Linked DNA regions of Homo sapiens: regions 1, 2, 3 and 4 are each linked to region 5. Evidence: promoter capture Hi-C in 16 types of primary human blood cells and fetal thymus (Javierre and others, 2016). All regions are on one chromosome and are shown on one strand. Each heading gives the region's core, a stretch centred on a gene start or on the middle of the fragment in contact. The rest is flanking DNA. Distances are from core to core; before and after follow the strand shown.

Region 1 (3,134 bases), core at 291-2,790, 550 kb after region 5:
GACAAGACTGCCATTTAAATCACTATTTGCCCTATTACATAGTTCTTAATATATTTATAGTGTGATAGTAACTATATCATCTACCTTATTGTTCAAGCCACACAATTATTTTTTTTTTTTTTTTTTTTTTTGAGATGGAGTTTCACTCTTGTCACCCAGGCTGGAGTGCAATGGCGCAATCTCGGCTCACTGCAACCTCCACCTCCTGGGTTCAAGCAATTCTCCTGCCTCAGCCTCCCAAGTAGCTGGGGTTACACGCATGCACCACCATGCCTGGTTAATTTTTGTATTTTGTGTAGAGACAGGGTTTCGCCATGTTGGTCAGGTTGGTCTCAAAGTCTTGAACTCCTGATCTCAGGTGATCCTCTCACCTTGGTCTCCCAAAGTGCTGGGATTACAGGCGTGAGCCACCACGCCCAGCCGCCACACAAATTTCATGCTTCACTTCACCTCTCCCTAACCAATCCACCCACCATTTAATCAGATACCTTGTCCTGCCCCTGTCTACCTCCTAAATATTGCCCAAATCTATCTACTTATTCCCTATTGCTACCACCCTAGTCTAAGCTACCATAATCTCTTGTGCCATATCTACTCTTGATTCCTTCCAAATAATTATCTACACTGTGGCCTGAGTGATCTTAAAATGCAATCTGATCATCACACTCCTGTATTTAAAATCCTTATTGGCTTCCCACCATCCTTAAAAGAAAAAAATCTTTAGCATACCTGAAAGCTATGTATGATCTAACCTGTGTCAACATCTCAATCTTCATTCCATGTCACTTCTCTTCCTTCTCCTTCTATCTCCAACCTACCTAGCTGTCAAGTCCACACTACTCAGGGCTCTGTTACAAGCACTTTTCTTCTTCTTACTACACTTTTCCTTCATAATCTCAACATACTCGTAATGATTTTCCCAGTGTTGTTCTCATTAAACTACGCTGTCATCATGGATAAGCAGTATATCTGTCTAATTTACAGGGGAATCTCCAAAATCTAGCACATAACTTGAATGGATAAGTACATACAGAAGAGGGTGAAGAAATAGGGAAAAAGAGAGTAAAAAAAGGAACTAGAAGATTCATCAAGTAAGCATTTCTAGTCATTCACATGTGCTTAAAGGAAAAAAAAAAGTTCTTTTGAGAATAATTTTTTAGGTCCTAGAAAAGTGTTTCAGCTCTTGGAATTATCTAAATGAAGAAAAAGTTTCAGGCCGGGCATGGTGGTTCATGCCTGGGGTGGTTCATCCCAGTACTTTGGGAGGCGGAAGTTGGTGGATCACTTGAGTTCAGGAGTTTGAGAACAGCCTGGGAAATATGGCAAAACCCCTGTCTCTACAAGAAAGAAAAATTTAGCTGGGTGTGGTGGTGCGCACCTGTAGTCCCAGCTACTCAGGAGGCTCAGGTGAGAGGACAGCTTGAAACTGGGAAGTCAAGGCTGCAGTGAGCCAAGATCATGCCACTGCACTCCAGCATGAGTGACAGACAGAGTGAGACCCTGTCTCAAAAAAGAAAAGAAAAAAAAGAAAAAGAAAAACTTCCAAACCTGACTGAAAATTATATTACTATGCCATAATGATGTAACATGTTACATTGTAGGCTAAATAATATTACAAATTTTTCAATTGGAGAACTAAATAAAATATAAATAAGCCATGGAAAAATAAATCACTGTAAAAAAATTCCTTGACATTTACTTAGTCTAAAGATAATAAATAGGTTAAAAGCATATTTTTTCTTTAACTACTGAGGACTGACTCTGATACTGAGTATTATGAATATTTACAGAAAAATAAGCCAGAAATTGTCTTTGTGATTTACTAAAACATTTCTAAAAAGAATTAGCACAATAATCCCACTACTTTGTAATAACAGATACCATCAAAGGCCTGTTCTTCACCAGACATTGTGCTATACAGTTACGTAGATTATCATTTAATTCTCTCAAATCTACAAGTAAAGTATTACCATTTTAAGGATAGACAAAACTGAGAAAGAAATTAAGTAGCATGCCCATAGGTGCAGAGGTAGAAAGTAATATAACTGGAATTCAAACTCAAATATATCTACTTCTTAGGAGTTTCCTCTATGAAACTATCTTAGAGTTTTGTCATATCTTAAATTATCTAATTTCCTAATTTTTTAAATCTAGCATTTCTTTTAGGCATACATTTCCTCTTTCCTTTCATTGGAATTTATTTGCTTATTTATAAAGGAAATAAGCATTCATAAAAAATGACAACTAGCCAGGCATGGTGGGTCACGCCTGTCACGCCAGCATTTTGGGAGGCTCAGATAGAAGGACCGCTTGAGCCCAGGAGTTCAAGACCAGCCTGGGCAACATGGCAAGACCTCATCTCTTAAATAAAAAAAAAAAAAAAAGTTTAGCCAGCGGTATGCACCTATGGTCCCAGCTACACAGGAGACTAAAGTGGGAGAATCACTGGAGTCTGGGAGATTGAGGCTGTAGTGAGCTATGATAGCACCTGTGTGCTCCAGCCTAGGCAACAGAGTGAGACCCTGTCTCTCAAAAAAAGAAAAAGAAAAGAAACTATATAGAAAAATATACACAGTAATATAAAGACACTTATTTGCCACTAGTGAAATCATACTATAAATAAATGCTAATTGTAAATTGTCTTTTTAACTTAGTAAGACATGTTCATATTTCAACTTCAGCTCTATTTCCACTTTTTCAAAATGGCTGCACAGAATTCCACCATATGGATATAACATAATTGGCTTAAGCAATTTACCTATTGATTAACATTTAGACTGTTGTTTTACTTAATGGTTGCTTAGTTAGTAGTATTTGGTTGTTAAGCAAGTTGATCCTTCATTGCTTTTAATGAATTAACAAAACAGTTGTGTTGAATGAGATAACTGATTTCCAAAATCCATGATACTTATTTTCAAAGAACAAGTCATCTAACTTTTTAAGTATCATTCCTAGCAATCTCTTTATCCTAAAGTTACACAGAACTAGCTGGTGATGAACTTTATCAAAATTTACATCTCCTAGCTGCTAGGAAGCCACTTTACTTACCTCTTTGTATCAGTTTTCTCACTGGCTAAGTGGTGGCTACAAAATCTGCTCTACCAACTAAATAGATTTTTGTGAGGATCAATTAC
Region 2 (3,352 bases), core at 7-2,506, 570 kb after region 5:
CTGGAAATTCCTTGAGACAAAGACTATGTATTTATTCATCTTTGTAAACCCAAGTGCCTAGCACAAAAAAAACACTCTATAAATATTTATTGAATAAAGAATAAATATTTTGTTGCATTAAATAATGGTGGCTAATGACGTTAGCTTTTTATTTCTTGGTGTTCTTTAATCATAAGAAGACCCAAATTGCAATATATTCAGGTATTACATTAAAAGATAAAAAGGATTCCTTACCACGTGTTCTAGTTCTTCAAAAGTTTTACAATTCAGCATGGCTTTTAACAAGCACTCAGACATCTTCCCTTCCTTCTTAATTTTCTGGATTGTACTATGAACTTTCTTTGCAACAGCCCTGAAAAGAGAAACTTTTGTAATATACCAAAACTGTATGTCAAAACTTTCTTTTCAAAGCTACCTCAAACTTACAGAAAAGTTGCAGGTAAAGTAAAAGGAACTTTATTGTCTCTGAACTGTTTGAGAATAAGTTAACATCCCTGCACTCCAACACTTTAGTGTGATTTCCTACAAATACAAATCTTCTACATAACCACAAAATAACCATCATTATCAGGTAATTAACACTAATATATTACTACCATCTAATGCAGAGCTCATTCAGGTTTTACCAACTGTCCCAATAATATCCTTTATAGTGGATTCAGTTAAGAATTATGGGTTACATGTAGTTGGCATGCAACTACAGTCTCCTTCAAGCTAAAACAATATTTTAGTCTCTCCTTGATTTTCTTCTCCTTGATAAGGCCTTGATGTTTTTGAACGCTACTGGACAGTTATTTTGTAGAATGTCCTGCAGCTTGGGTTTCTCTGATGTTTCCTCACAATTAAATACCGATGGAGCATCTTTGGCAGAAATATCATAGAAGTCATACTGTGTTCTTACTACACGTTATTAGGTGACAAATGATTTTGATTTGTCTCATTACTAATTAACTTTGATCATTTGATTAAGGTAGTATCTGTGGGTTTCTCCAAGACACAGGTACTCTTTATTCCTCTTGTAATTATAAGTATTTTGTGGAGAGGTACTTTGAGACTATATAATTATCCCATTCCTCATTAAACTTTGAATTTATTCACTGATTTATTTATATCACTATAGATTTAATGGTTTTTTATTTTACTTAGTGCTACAATCCATTGCTATCATTTATCTTAATGTTCAAATTTTTCCAGATTTGGCCAAAAGTAACCCCTTCAAGCTAGCTTCTGTGTCCTTTTGACATGTATCTGTCATTCTGCGAGCACTTCCTTATTCTCTGGCATATGATATTTCAGGCTTATCTTCTAGTTTCCCTGCCCCAGCCCTGGAATCAGAAGAATGATACTTAAAAACCAAGGTATAGGTACTAGATATGCTCATTGCTACTGGAGTATCACTGCTCAGGATGGGCACACCTAGCACCCATAATTGGTTTCCAAATACCATTCCCCACTAAAAAGAACCAGGATTCCATGTAGAAAAGTTGATTCCAGGAATCAATTTACAGGGATCACTAAACAACTAACGACAAAAGGAAGGGTGGGCACAGTAGTTCCCCCACTTTACAACAGGTTTTCACTGTGAATATACAATCCTGTTGTTACAGTTAATGCTTCTCATCCTATTGTATTACCTCCTATTTATAGAATCTGCCTAATAATGGTATTGCTAAAATGATGGGCAAAAGTTAGAGATGATAATATGATTTATTCAAAATGATCGATGGAAAAGAAAATTAAATCTACTTGTAAATTAAAAAAAAAAAACTAAAGGCAGAAGACTATAAATTAAAGAGAAGAATATAAATTAAAAAGAAGAATATGCAGTACTTAGATTACAACCTGTATGTCTTCTATAGTCATGGTAGCCCAAGACTGTTTTCAAGGGCTAAAGCCTACCAGGTCATTTTAACAAAAAGCCAATTCCTTTTGTCCTATTAGCCTGCATATAAGGAAGAAGAGAATTATCTTTAGAGAAAAATACAGAAAACTTTTCTTACTATCCAGAATCATACTCTTTAATTCACTTTTCAACAGTGAATTTAAAAATGTTTTACGTTGCAACCCAGTATACATACATATAGATGCTACATAATTGAAACATTTCATGAAACAATATTTGCCTTTACCACATAAATGTACTCTTGTATTTTCTATTCACTATTTCATTTTTTAAGTGGTATGACTTATTAAATTGGTTTTACTTCTCATGTAGGGGTAGCAATTAACAAATTGAAAATCAATGCTCTAGTTATAGAAAATGCTGAGCTCAAGAAAAAATAAAGATCATATCTCATTACCAGAAAGAAATTTCTGTATTATAGAAAAAGATCTCTTAAGTTCCAGTCAATGCCCCCACTTACTTCAAGGAATATTCACTCCTCTACTAATATTCAATGTATTCCCCTATTCATAGAAACCCAGAGAATGGAATTCTTTTGCAATAGAAGGGTTTTTTAAAGAAAAAGAAAATAATAATATTCTTGATATACAGCTCCTATTTGTCTCCCATACAACCAAATATTGTTAGACTACCCTTTAATTTTTTAAGCAAGCTTTTCTTGCTTGTGAGGCTTTCTCCAATTTCAGATCCAAAACCCTCAGACTTTCTTAATTACCTTGCCTTCAACCAAACAGAAAGCTTACTTCAGAATTTGCAAACTGCTGGCCTTCTAGGTGTGGTCAAGAGTGGTTTTGTTTGGCCTAGAAATTTGTTACGTAAAAACTCAAATTACCAGCTTCTTTTCAGAAACAGGAAGAACCAGCAAACTGGGCAGACAACCCTGCATGACAGTAATCTACTGGAGACGAGCAAGGGTTGCCCCTCTTAGACAGGGTTTGTAATCTCCAATTCTTATTCCCCATGCTTGATTATCCTAGCCTGGCTCTGGAACATTTGCATCTGAGACTATTTGATTTAGTCATTTATATTTTTACATTGGCAAATTGATTCTGCCTCTCAATGAAGTATAACTTTCCACATATTAGCACTTTAATTCTCCTGACACTAAAAGAACGTCAAGAGGTAGAAAAGTGAGATGCAAGTTCCCCCAAAATAACAGAAAGCTTGTCAAGCTTGTTATAAAAATTACCCTTAATACTTTTAAAATGGCTTCATAGTAGAATGATAATCCAATTTTAATCAGATCTTTTTTGTACACTTGAAGAATGTACACATTAACACAGTGCCCATGGGAGACATGCAATAAATGCATAAGCAGTGAAGTGTTTTAATAAACCCTATCGAATAATATGGTCAGTCTTGTAGTCTTTGTACACATATTTCTCAGTTATTAGCAGTGAGTCCAGAGGCATAATTTTTTTAAAAAGGTACTTTCCATTCTGTAACCAT
Region 3 (3,446 bases), core at 933-3,432, 600 kb after region 5:
GTGTGAGCCATGGCGCCTGGCCAGAAAATTCTTTAACAGCTTCATTGACATATAATTGACATGCAATACACTGCACATGTTTAAAGTGTGCAAATTTGATGTTTTGACATATGTATACATATCACTACAATCAAGAAAATGAACACATTATCATCCTCCAAAGTTCCATTTGCTAAGTCAAAATGTTACAAATCTTTTTTTCTTTCATCTCACATATCCAGACTATTAGTAAGTCACATAAGATCCTCCTCCAAAATGTCTTGAATCTCCACGATCTTCAGTGAGCCTTTAGTCCTCAACCTCCCTCACTTGAACTACCACACTCGCCTCTTAACTGCCCTCCCTACTTCCACTCTTGCCCCTGCAACTCATTCTCCACTTATCAACTCAAGATCATTTAGAATATGCTTTAGAAACAACGAATTACTTCCCACCCCATCCTTCACTTAGAATCAAGCCACATTTTTATGAGGCCTTTGAAAAGGCCCTGTCGGACTGAGCCCTGCTCACCTTTCTAACCACCTTTACTACTTGCTGGAGCTCCTCAGCTCTTGTCATAACATTCTTTCCCACCTCAGGTACTCTCTGCCTGGAGTATTCTTCCCCCTGCTTGTCAATTGGCTGGCTCCTTGCATCCCTTAGATCTTAACATTTCAGGCCTAAAATAGGTTTCTCAATTATATTTTAAAAGGAGCCTATTTACTTCCTGTATACAGTAGGTTATAACACAATCTGTAATTATTTTTATTTTACTTGTTTATTGCTTGCACTGCTGTCAAGAGAGTAAATACCATGAAAGAAGGAAATGCATGTGCCTTATTCACTTCCATATCATAGAACCTAGCACTTAACAGATGCCCTACAACTATTAAATGAACATAATATGTACAAATATGGTCTCTACAGAGGAATATACATTTATTTTCCACCACTCTTAGGCAATGCCACACATTGCATTCATCTCTTTCTGAAGAAGTGATGGCACATAAGAATATTCCTATTCTTCAGTGACTTGGGATTTTTCCCTCCTTTCAAACTATCTTAATCACTGTAGGCACATGAGCATATTCCAAACCAATAATTTGGAGGTTGCTATGATGTTACTAAGGGAAGAGCCACTAAACTAGGACGACTGCAAATCAGGACAAAGGGGCAAAAGGACGTGCACACTAACAAATACTAAATTAAAATTGGAAAAAAAAATTTAAATTCAAGAAGGCAAACAAAGGAGGACAATTTCTTAAGAAGCACCTAAACAAGTTTCCATGAAGGACCAACAGAGTGCTTGAATGTTAGCAGATTCCCAAGTCACAAAAACAAAATACTAGAGCTGAAAGAACCTGAGATCAGACAGTCCCGCTATATTCAGAAATCTGAGACCCAATGAGGTGAAACAGTTTACTCAAAGGGGAAAGATATGTGGCAAAGGACTATAGCCCAGTGCCTGGAACACCAAGACTAGTCTCGTTTCCCATTCCACACACAATATGTTAATGACATGTCACGTGAGGGGTTCGAGGAAAGTTGCCTAGAGAGTTCCCAATTCATTCCTTTCCTCCGGTTACTGAGCGCCTCCTACATGCCAGGCGCACTACAGAAGGTGCAGTTGATTCAGACAGGGCCACCATGACCGTGAAAAGGGTGCTTCCTCTCCCACCTCCGATAATTTTAGGTATAAAAACAATCCAGGTAAATTAGCCGGGTGTGATGACGGGCGCCTGTAGCCCCAGCTACTCGGGAGGCTGAGGCAGGCGAATGGCGTGAATCCGGGAGGCGGAGCTTGCAGTGAGCCGAGATCGCTCCACTACACTCCAGCCTGGGCGACAGAGGGAGACTCCGTCTCAAAAAAAAAAAAAACAGGCTTGCCCAGGCTTTTCTATGTCTGTTATGCGCTAAGAGCTGCAGCAATTTGGCTGAAAAGAGGTGTCACGAGGTAGCTAGGAGGGGTTTTCGGGTGGTCGGTTGTGAGAGACCGCTGACAGTAAAATGTAATGAACTTCTCACTTTTAAAAAAGGGGTGTTATTGCCCAAATGAGCGCTCAGAACTTTTTTAATGGCCCCAAAGATCCCGGAGCCCGGACGCCGGGCTCTTGAGAACCCGCAAGACGACCGCCAAGGCGCACGCACAGCTCACCTTCCCGCCCGGCACGTCAGAAGACCCGAGATTCCGTGAGTGCCACCGCACCTTCCGGTTCCCGCCGGAAGTTTTTCAAACGCCAGAAGGTCCGCCTCGCTTCTTCCGGACCAAGTTAGCCACAGACCTCCAAGGCGCGGCGCTACCGAACGGGGCGGAGCCAGGCTGGACGGAGGCGGGGCTAGAGCGAGGATCCCGAGGGAGCGCCGGGGTGGGGCTGGTTCGTAGAAATGAAAAATGACTTTTTTTTTACGTGTTATTTACCAAGAACACTAAACTCTTAAGCCCACAGATACAGCCAAATAAATTAGATTATAAAAGTAGGGAAATAAGGCTGCTGTTGTCTACATTCGAATTTAGCAGATCAAAACCCCATGGATTTGTTTTAGAAAATTCTAAAAAGCAGCTTTCCACTGCTAATGACTTATTTCCAGGGACTCTGAGTACTGAAGAGCCTAGCAAGTTATTGAAATGACCTGTGACCGTGCCTTGTTGCAGATCTACCGGAAGTGAGCATAGATTTTACTGGATAATTTTTGTGATTGGGGGAAAAAAAAAAGGATTCTTTCTAAATTTAGTAAATCTAATCTTCTATATCTGAGATTGTTGGCCAGGAAAGATCAGTTTCCGAGATTGTTTAGGGATTTTTTTTTCCTTTTAATTAGCACAGTCGTATGTTGCCTTTAGTGATGGTTCCAGAAGGCCTAGAATTGTCTACTACAATCACAGTCTCCTTCACAATTTATGGTCCTGAAGAAATACTAGAGAACACCTTACCGTTCAGGATTGTGGGAAGAGAAACCAGATCATAGAAATCAACAACAATAATGTACTACTTACTATTCACCTACTTTTGATGTTGCATTTGCTACTCAGGTTTATGGTAAGGGGTTGTCTTGGTCAATTTTCTGCTGCTGTAACCAAATACCATAGACTGGTAGATTTATAAAGAAAGAGATTTGTTTGGCTTGTAGTTCTGAAGGCTGGGAAGTCCAAGACAGAGGGCATTATTGTTGTGTCAAAATATGATGGAGGGCATCATACTGGGGTAGGGGTGGGGGAGGCATGTGAACCCAATTGACTCCCGAAATAACTAACCCTCCTGTGATAATGGAATTAACTCATTCATGACCTAATCATTTCCTAAAGGTCCCACCTCTTCATACTATTACAATGACAAGTTTCAACTTGAATTTTTGAAGGGGACATTCCAATCATTGCAGAGGTAGTAAGGGTAAAGGTGAACTAATATACTGCAAAGTCTTTTGACATAAGTCCTGCCCTGGAGGAATTTACGACCAAGAGTAGGAAC
Region 4 (3,257 bases), core at 383-2,882, 530 kb after region 5:
ACTGATGAGAATATGGAACTATAAGCCATCTGTCTGGTCTGCAGCCTAAATTCACACTACCTGGGTGGTCAGAAAAAAACTCAAGCCGAGAATTTAATTTAAGTGATCCCAAACTGGTAGTATCTAAGGGAGTGTAGCAGAAGCAAATGCAAATCCTCTTTGAAGCAACTTACCATCAGTCCAGGCCTAAATGAATTCCCACAAAGTTCCACCAAAATAAAAAGCTTACCTTAAGAACTGAACAAAAAAGGAAAGAAAGCATCACAAAGCAGAACCAGCAATTACAGCATATAGCAGAAATAAAATTACAAGGATTCTAGAATTATTACACAGATTGTAAAATGCAAAATTTAACATGGTTTAAAAAAAGACAGGCTTGAAAATATAGCCAGGAAAAAAGTGACAGAATCATCAAGCAGATTTGAAAAACACAGAACTTCTAGATGAAAAATAAAACTGAAATTAAAAATTGAATGGGCCAGGCATGGTGGCTCACGCCTGTAACCCCAGCACTTTGGGAGGCCATGGCAGGCGGATCATGAGGTCAGGAGTTCAAGACCAGCCTGACCAACACAGTGAAACCCTGTCTCTACTAAAAATACAAAAATTAGCTGGGCATGGTGGCAGGCGCCTGTAATCCCAGCTACTCAGGAGGCTGAGGCAGGAGAATCACTTGAACCCAGGAGGCAGAGGCTGCAGTGAGCTGAGATTGTGCTGCTGCACTCCAGCCTGGGCGACAGAGAGAGAGTCCATCTTAAAAAAAAAAAAAAAAAATTAAATGAGTGGATGTCAATTCTCCAAAAATTAAATTACAGACTTAATGAGTTAAAACTATAAAACTTCTAGTACAAAACAGAAGAAAATCACAGTAACCTTGATTTTGCCAAAATTTCCAGAATAGAAAACAAAAAGCAAAAACTATACCAAAAAATTGATAAATTGGACTTTCTCAAAACTAAAATTTTTGCCATTCAAAAGATCCTGTTTAAAAAAAAGTGAAAAGTCACAGACTGGGAAAAAATGTTTATGAAACATATACCTGACAAAGGGCTTAATTCAGAATAAATAAAAATACTCTTATTCAATAATCACAAGGAAAACAATCCATTTTTTTAAATGCAAAGATTTGAACAGATACCTCACTAAAGAAGATACATGGATGGCAAATAAGCAAATGAAGATGCTCATGATCATTAATCACTAGGAAAATGCAGATTAAAACCACAATGAGATATCACTACATATCCACTAGGGCAGCTAAATTTAAAAGGCTGACCATACCAAGCACTGACCATAACTTCATAATTCCATTGAGGATACAGAGAAACTAGTGTTACGGAATCCTTAGGGTGTCACTTTTCCAGCCAGACACCTCTGTGGCCAGTGGTGCCTTTGTCCGAGTTTTGCTCAGGCCCCCTGGGCTCGTTCCACTCACTCAAGCTGGCAGGCTGTGCTTGGCTGGTGCTACTGGCCCAGATCTCACCCTGCCAAGGGTGAGCCAGGCGTAGTGCGGTGAGCGGTGTGTGAGTGAGCACAGGGTCCGGCCACTGTGCAGAGCTAGGCGTGCCAGCTGTGGCAGGGCAGGTGGTGCCATGCAAGGCTGTGGCTGGACCAGATATATCACATGCAACTACCACTGCAGACACCCACATCTGGACGAGGGGAACACAGTGGTTCCTGGAAGGTGGGAGATGCCAGGAACCAGAGAGTCCCAAAGAGGGTGCCATAGCCCTGGCTTAGGGAGCACCTAGGTCTGGGCTCCCCAAAGGGCTGCAGCTCTTTTCTCCTTCTCAAGGTCTGCAGCATGGCAGGCAGGAGGGCATGTTTCAGCCCTGTTTGTGTTACAGCTGTTTCAGATCCACCATTTGGTGGAACCAGAGTTCTTGTCCCATGTCCAAGAAGAATGAGGTATGTGGACAACTGGAGGGTGAGCAAGGCAGAGAGGAACTTCACTGAGTGACAGAACAGCTCTCAGAAGACCCAAAGCGGGCAGCTCCTTTCCGCAGGCAGGTTGTCCCAATGAGTGTCTAGCTCTCAGCAGAGAGGAGACCCACAGTGGGTAGCCCCTTTCTGCAGGCAGGTTATCCCAATGAGTGTCCAGCTCCCAGTGGAGAGGAGATGGGCAGTGGGTAGCCCCATTCTGCAGACAGGTCTCCTGACAAGTGTCCAGCTCTCAGCAGAGAGCAGACCCAAAGTGGGTGGCTCCTTCCCATAGCTGGTAGTCCCAACATTTGTGTCAGTCTGGCTGAGTCCAGGGTTTTTATGGGCTCAGAAGGGAGGAATGCATGCTGATTGGTCCATGGGCAGCCATGGGCATGTCTGGAAAAAGTACCATAAGTTCACACTCCCGGCCACAGACTCCACCCAGAACTGGCAACCTGGCCTCCAGACTTCACGTAGGCCCTGGCTTGGAGGTGGGGGTTTCACTGAGACCTGCCCCTTGCTGCACAGGAATGTCTGCCTCCCACCATCAGCATGCATCCATGGTGCATGGGCTGTTTGTGCCAGGGGACACCTGTAGGCCTGTGCCAAGCTGCCCTTAGCCATCACCCCACCCCAGCCTCACTCCTGTGTTGGTTGGTGCCCAAAATCCTGAACAGGCTGAGGCAGCAGGGGCTGGTGTCAGCACTGCCTCGAGTGCAGGCACACCTGTCCAGGTCGCAACAGTGCCTAGGCTCGGCCACAACTTTGCTCTGTTCTGGAGCGGGTGCTGGGAGCAGGGAGAGGCCAGGGAGGTGGAGCAGGTACTTCCGAGCCTGCAGGGGAAGGGGCATCGCAGGCCCCTGAGAGTGCAGGGATGCCCAGGTCCAGAGCTGTAGCTGGGCAGCTGCAACTGCGCCCAGGAGCATGGGGCTCCTCTGCCCCACTAACCTGGTAGGAGGTGGGGCTCCCATCACCTGTGGAGCATGCAACCCAAGCCACAACTCCCCTGCTGCAGCCAGTGTCTTCCCAGCAGCTGCTCCAGATGGGCTGCCACTGCCACCACTAGAATTCTGATACATTGTTGGTGGGAAAGTAAGATGGTACAACCATCTTGGGAAAAAGCTTGACAGTTTCTTAAGTTAAACATGTACCGTATACCATATACCACACAACACAGACTTTCCACACCTAGCTATTTACCTAAGAGAAATGACAGCATATATCCATACAGACTTGTAAATGAATGCTCATGCTGCTTTATTGGTAGTAGCAAAAAACTAGCAACAACTCGAATATCCATCAACAGGTGATTGAATAAACTAATTGTGATACAG
Region 5 (3,442 bases), core at 283-2,782:
TCTAGCAAGGCAGAAAACAGGGCATGCGTCTCTTCTCTCCCAGAACTGACACTTCCTCCCTTTCACCTCTGGATCCTTTCTAAGGAGATAAAGGACCCGCTCTCAACTCCATGTGACAACGAAAATTCATGGCCTGGCTTTTCCCCATCCAGGTCATTCTAGGGAAGTTCCAGCCCCAGTCCCGACCCCATCACACTTTGGCCTGGAGCTAAGGCTGGGGGGAAATGCCGGGAAGCACCACCAGCAAGAAATCTGCAAATCCCCTTTCATCTGGGCTCAAACCCCTCTGTCCTGAGGATGACCAGACCTACTGTGCCTGCCTCACAGGGGATACAGGCCCACAGTTCTGCGCTGCCCCGAAGCTCTCTGCTTCTCCACCCTTTTCCTCTAGCGACCGAGTAGTTAGTTGACAACTTCCTGAATTGCTCTGCCCGCTTTAGACAAATCCCTGCTCGCCGGGTCTCCGGCATAGAAAGGCCTAAGCATCGTCCAAGTCAGGCCGGGCTGCCGCTGGGCTGTGGCCGGGCCTGGGGGCCCAGTTTAGGCCTCTCCGGGGGACCGGCAGAAGCCCTGCGAACCCCTCCCTTGGGCCCCGGGGAGCTGGCGCCGAAGAAGGTCTACTTACTCGTACCTTTCCTTGGCCTCGGCCGCCCGGTCGCGCTGCCGCCGGTTCTTGAACCAGTTGCTGACCTGTGTGGTGGTGAGGCCCGTGGCCTCCGCCAGCTCACGCTTCTCGCGGGGTGAAGGGTAGGGGTTGTGCGCGTACCACTCGCGCAGCACGCTGCGACTCTTTTCCTTGAAGCAGTAGCTGGTCTCCTCGCCGTCCCAGATGGAGCGCGGCAGCGGGAATTTGCGGCGCACGCGGTATTTGCCCACGGCGCCCAGGGGTCGGCCGCGCAGCTTCTCCGCCTCGATGTAGTGTGCCTTGAGCCACAGCTGCTGCAGCTTGGCGTGGTTGTGCGGCGAGAACTGGTGGCTCTCCAGGATCTTGTAGAGCTCGCGGAAGTTGCCGCGGTGGAAGGCCACCACGGCCTTGGCCTTGAGCACGCTTTCATTCTTGTGAAGGTGCTCGCAGGCGGGCAGCGACCACAGGAAGCGGCCCAGCCGCTCGATGTTGCCGCCCTGCTGCAGCACCTCGCACACGCACGCCACTTGCTCCTGCGTGAAGCCGAAGGTGGGCAGCATGGACATGGTGCCGGCTGCGTCCCCGCCCGCCCGCGCGCGCCCTCACCGGGCCGCGCGGTCCCGCATGGGAGCTTCCTCGCCGGGCCGTCCGGGCCGAGACGCGGGCGGGGCTGGCCCCCTGGCCCGGCACTGGCCCCCGGTGAGCCCCGAGTCACTGCCGTACGTCCCCGCGCCGGCCGCGGGTCCCACGAAGCTCCGAACCCCAACGGCCCGCGCGCCTGGCCCAAGCCCTCGCCCAAGCCCGGGGGCCGCCCGGGGCGCCGCTCCGCATGCTCCGCGCCCGCCCGCCGTTCCCTCGCTCGCTTCTCACTCGTTCTCCCTCCCGTCTAGCTGGCTCTCAGCTTTCTTAATAATATTATTCTAAGCGGGCATGAGGCGCGGCGGCCCGCGCCCTGATTGGTCCGGTTATCTGACCCGGGGCCTGCCAGCGCCAGACAATAGTCGGAGTCAAATTATTCGCCATGGAGACGCTGTCAGTCACTGGTAACCCGAGCCTCGGCGGGCCGGGCGGCTCCCCCCGGCCGGCTCCGCTGACAGATCGCCCCGCTCCGCGCAGAACTGAGGGCGGCTCTACTGGAGCCTGGGGCGCTCTGAGAGCCTGGGAGGCGGAGAGGGGCCGGGTTGGGGCCGGCGGCGGCGGAGATTGACGGGGCGGATGCCCAAAGAGGGAGGGAGGAGGAGGACAGGAGAGCGGGGGGAGCGGGCGAAGACGAAAAGGGGTGGATCGAGGTGGGGAGAGAAGAGGAGAGAAGGGAAGGCGGAGACCGTTTAAGGGGGTGTCCAGGAGGAAGGGGAGGGAGAGGGGTGGAAGGAGACTCCAGGGGAAGAAAGTTTGGGCAGCTTTGGCTAGGAGAGGGCTCTGCAGCCTCGCCCAGACCCTACAGGGTTCCCCTTCTCCCCAGGTCACCGCGTCCCTCCCAGGCTCTCTGTTCACCGGGCACATTCTACCCCGGCGCAGGCCAGTGGGATGGGAGAGTTTGGACGTGCTCGGGTGCCGCCCAAAGACTTGGCTTTTTCTGCTGACAGCGCCCCACCCCCATCCTAGAAACTCTGGACTCAGCGGTCCTCGAGGGAAAAGGGGAGGGAGTAGACGAAAGAAATGGGGAAGATTTGGCAGTGGCCGCAGGCGGACGCCGGAGAATCGACTTCCCGGAGGATCCCGCCTTTCCTCCCTCTCCTAGCCCCGCCGGCTGCCTGGCGGCCTGTACCGCCCCAACTCTGCGCTCTCTGCTCCTCGCCGGGCGGGGACTCAGACTTAACCCCACGGGTCCCACAGCCCGAGGAGCGCCAGGCAGTTCCGTGTGGCCTCTATGGAAGCTGACTCCGGCCGGCAGCTGCGACGCAGAACCCCGGACGGCGCAGACCCGCAGTCTGCCCACCGGGGCGGGGGAGAGGGGCGACGGCAGGGACTCTAGGACGGTGGTGGGGCTTCCCCGGTGGGTGGTCGGGGAGGAGAACGGAGGCAAGATTCCCAGTCCTCCCGCTTCGCCGCTGGGGATCGGCTCGGCTCCTGGCCACTCCAGCCTGGGAACCGGCTCGCTGAGCTCCGGGATGAGGTGCTTTAAAAGGGGGTCCTGTTTTTTGCTTCTTTGTCAGGGTGCCAATGGAAACATGTGGTGCTGGTCCTGTGGGAGAAGGGCTCGCACAAAGGTGGGAGAACTGAGGATGGGTGTGTTCTTGCTCTACGTTTTGAAAAGCCCGGGGCTTAGCTCCTTCCCGGACATGTCCTTTCCACTTCCTTCAGTTTCCTCCTCTTCCCCCCTCAGCTGCTGCAGGCCAGGAGCTCCTAGGGCCATACTCAGTGCCTGACCCAAGCCAGCACAAATCCTGGGCTCTGCCCTCAGCCAGTCTAGGGCTATGGAACCCGAGTCTAGGCCAGTTCCTTCTTTCCCACCCTTTTATGCTTTCTATGGAGTTTGTGCTAGGAGCGCGGAATGGGAGTCTAGAGCCCTGGGTTCAACTTTTGGTTTTGCTTGGTGTCTATGGTAAGGCATATATTTATGCCTTTGTGTTTATTTCCTTCTCTGCAAGATTTCAAAAATTTTCCCTGTGCTGCAGCATTCCGGAAGTCCTTTGGGAGTGTTGTAGGCATGAGAGAATGGAACCCTGGGACTCCTCTTAAGACTTTAGCTTCCAGGGGCCTACCCTGGCATGTTGAATGAGGCCACAGGGCTGACAAAGTAGGTCCCAAGCCAGTGCGGGTGCAGAAAGGGGAAGCTTTCTGCAGAAATCCAGGTGGCATCTTTAGAGTCTGTAT

Evidence for each region. Contacts are between HindIII fragments. The CHiCAGO score rates a contact against its expected background, and 5 or more counts as called.
Region 1: a contact is called between a fragment that was not itself captured here and the fragment with the promoter of SIX2 in region 5, in 2 of 17 cell types (erythroblasts and megakaryocytes). The highest score is 5.4, in erythroblasts.
Region 2: a fragment that was not itself captured here is called in contact with the fragment with the promoter of SIX2 in region 5 in 8 of 17 cell types (M2 macrophages, megakaryocytes, M0 macrophages and 5 more); the score reaches 7.9 in M2 macrophages.
Region 3: the fragment with the promoter of SRBD1 here is called in contact with the fragment with the promoter of SIX2 in region 5 in 1 of 17 cell types (megakaryocytes); the score reaches 5.0 in megakaryocytes.
Region 4: a fragment that was not itself captured here is called in contact with the fragment with the promoter of SIX2 in region 5 in 2 of 17 cell types (monocytes and endothelial precursors); the score reaches 5.6 in monocytes.

The regions. Positions count from the first base shown.
Region 1 is chr2:45,558,578-45,561,711 of GRCh38, forward strand. All of the region lies in intron 10 of SRBD1 (S1 RNA binding domain 1), which reads right to left. Among named protein-coding and RNA genes, the nearest start is that of SRBD1, 51 kb to the right of the region's middle. The HindIII fragment of the contact is 3,389 bases long and covers 1-3,134 here.
Region 2 is chr2:45,581,459-45,584,810 of GRCh38, forward strand. It overlaps SRBD1 (S1 RNA binding domain 1), which reads right to left. Exons shown (of 21, transcript NM_018079.5): 6 at 235-352. Among named protein-coding and RNA genes, the nearest start is that of SRBD1, 28 kb to the right of the region's middle. The HindIII fragment of the contact is 2,593 bases long and covers 1-2,553 here.
Region 3 is chr2:45,609,085-45,612,530 of GRCh38, forward strand. SRBD1 (S1 RNA binding domain 1) reads right to left here and starts at 2,183. Exons shown (of 21, transcript NM_018079.5): 1 at 2,135-2,183. RefSeq lists an enhancer at 1,834-2,003. The HindIII fragment of the contact is 4,677 bases long and covers 1-3,446 here.
Region 4 is chr2:45,539,585-45,542,841 of GRCh38, forward strand. All of the region lies in intron 14 of SRBD1 (S1 RNA binding domain 1), which reads right to left. Among named protein-coding and RNA genes, the nearest start is that of SRBD1, 70 kb to the right of the region's middle. The HindIII fragment of the contact is 2,821 bases long and covers 223-3,043 here.
Region 5 is chr2:45,007,920-45,011,361 of GRCh38, forward strand. SIX2 (SIX homeobox 2) reads right to left here and starts at 1,533. Exons shown (of 2, transcript NM_016932.5): 1 at 632-1,533. The coding sequence starts at 1,191. RefSeq lists enhancers at 228-1,001, 2,006-2,605. The HindIII fragment of the contact is 4,145 bases long and covers 1-3,400 here.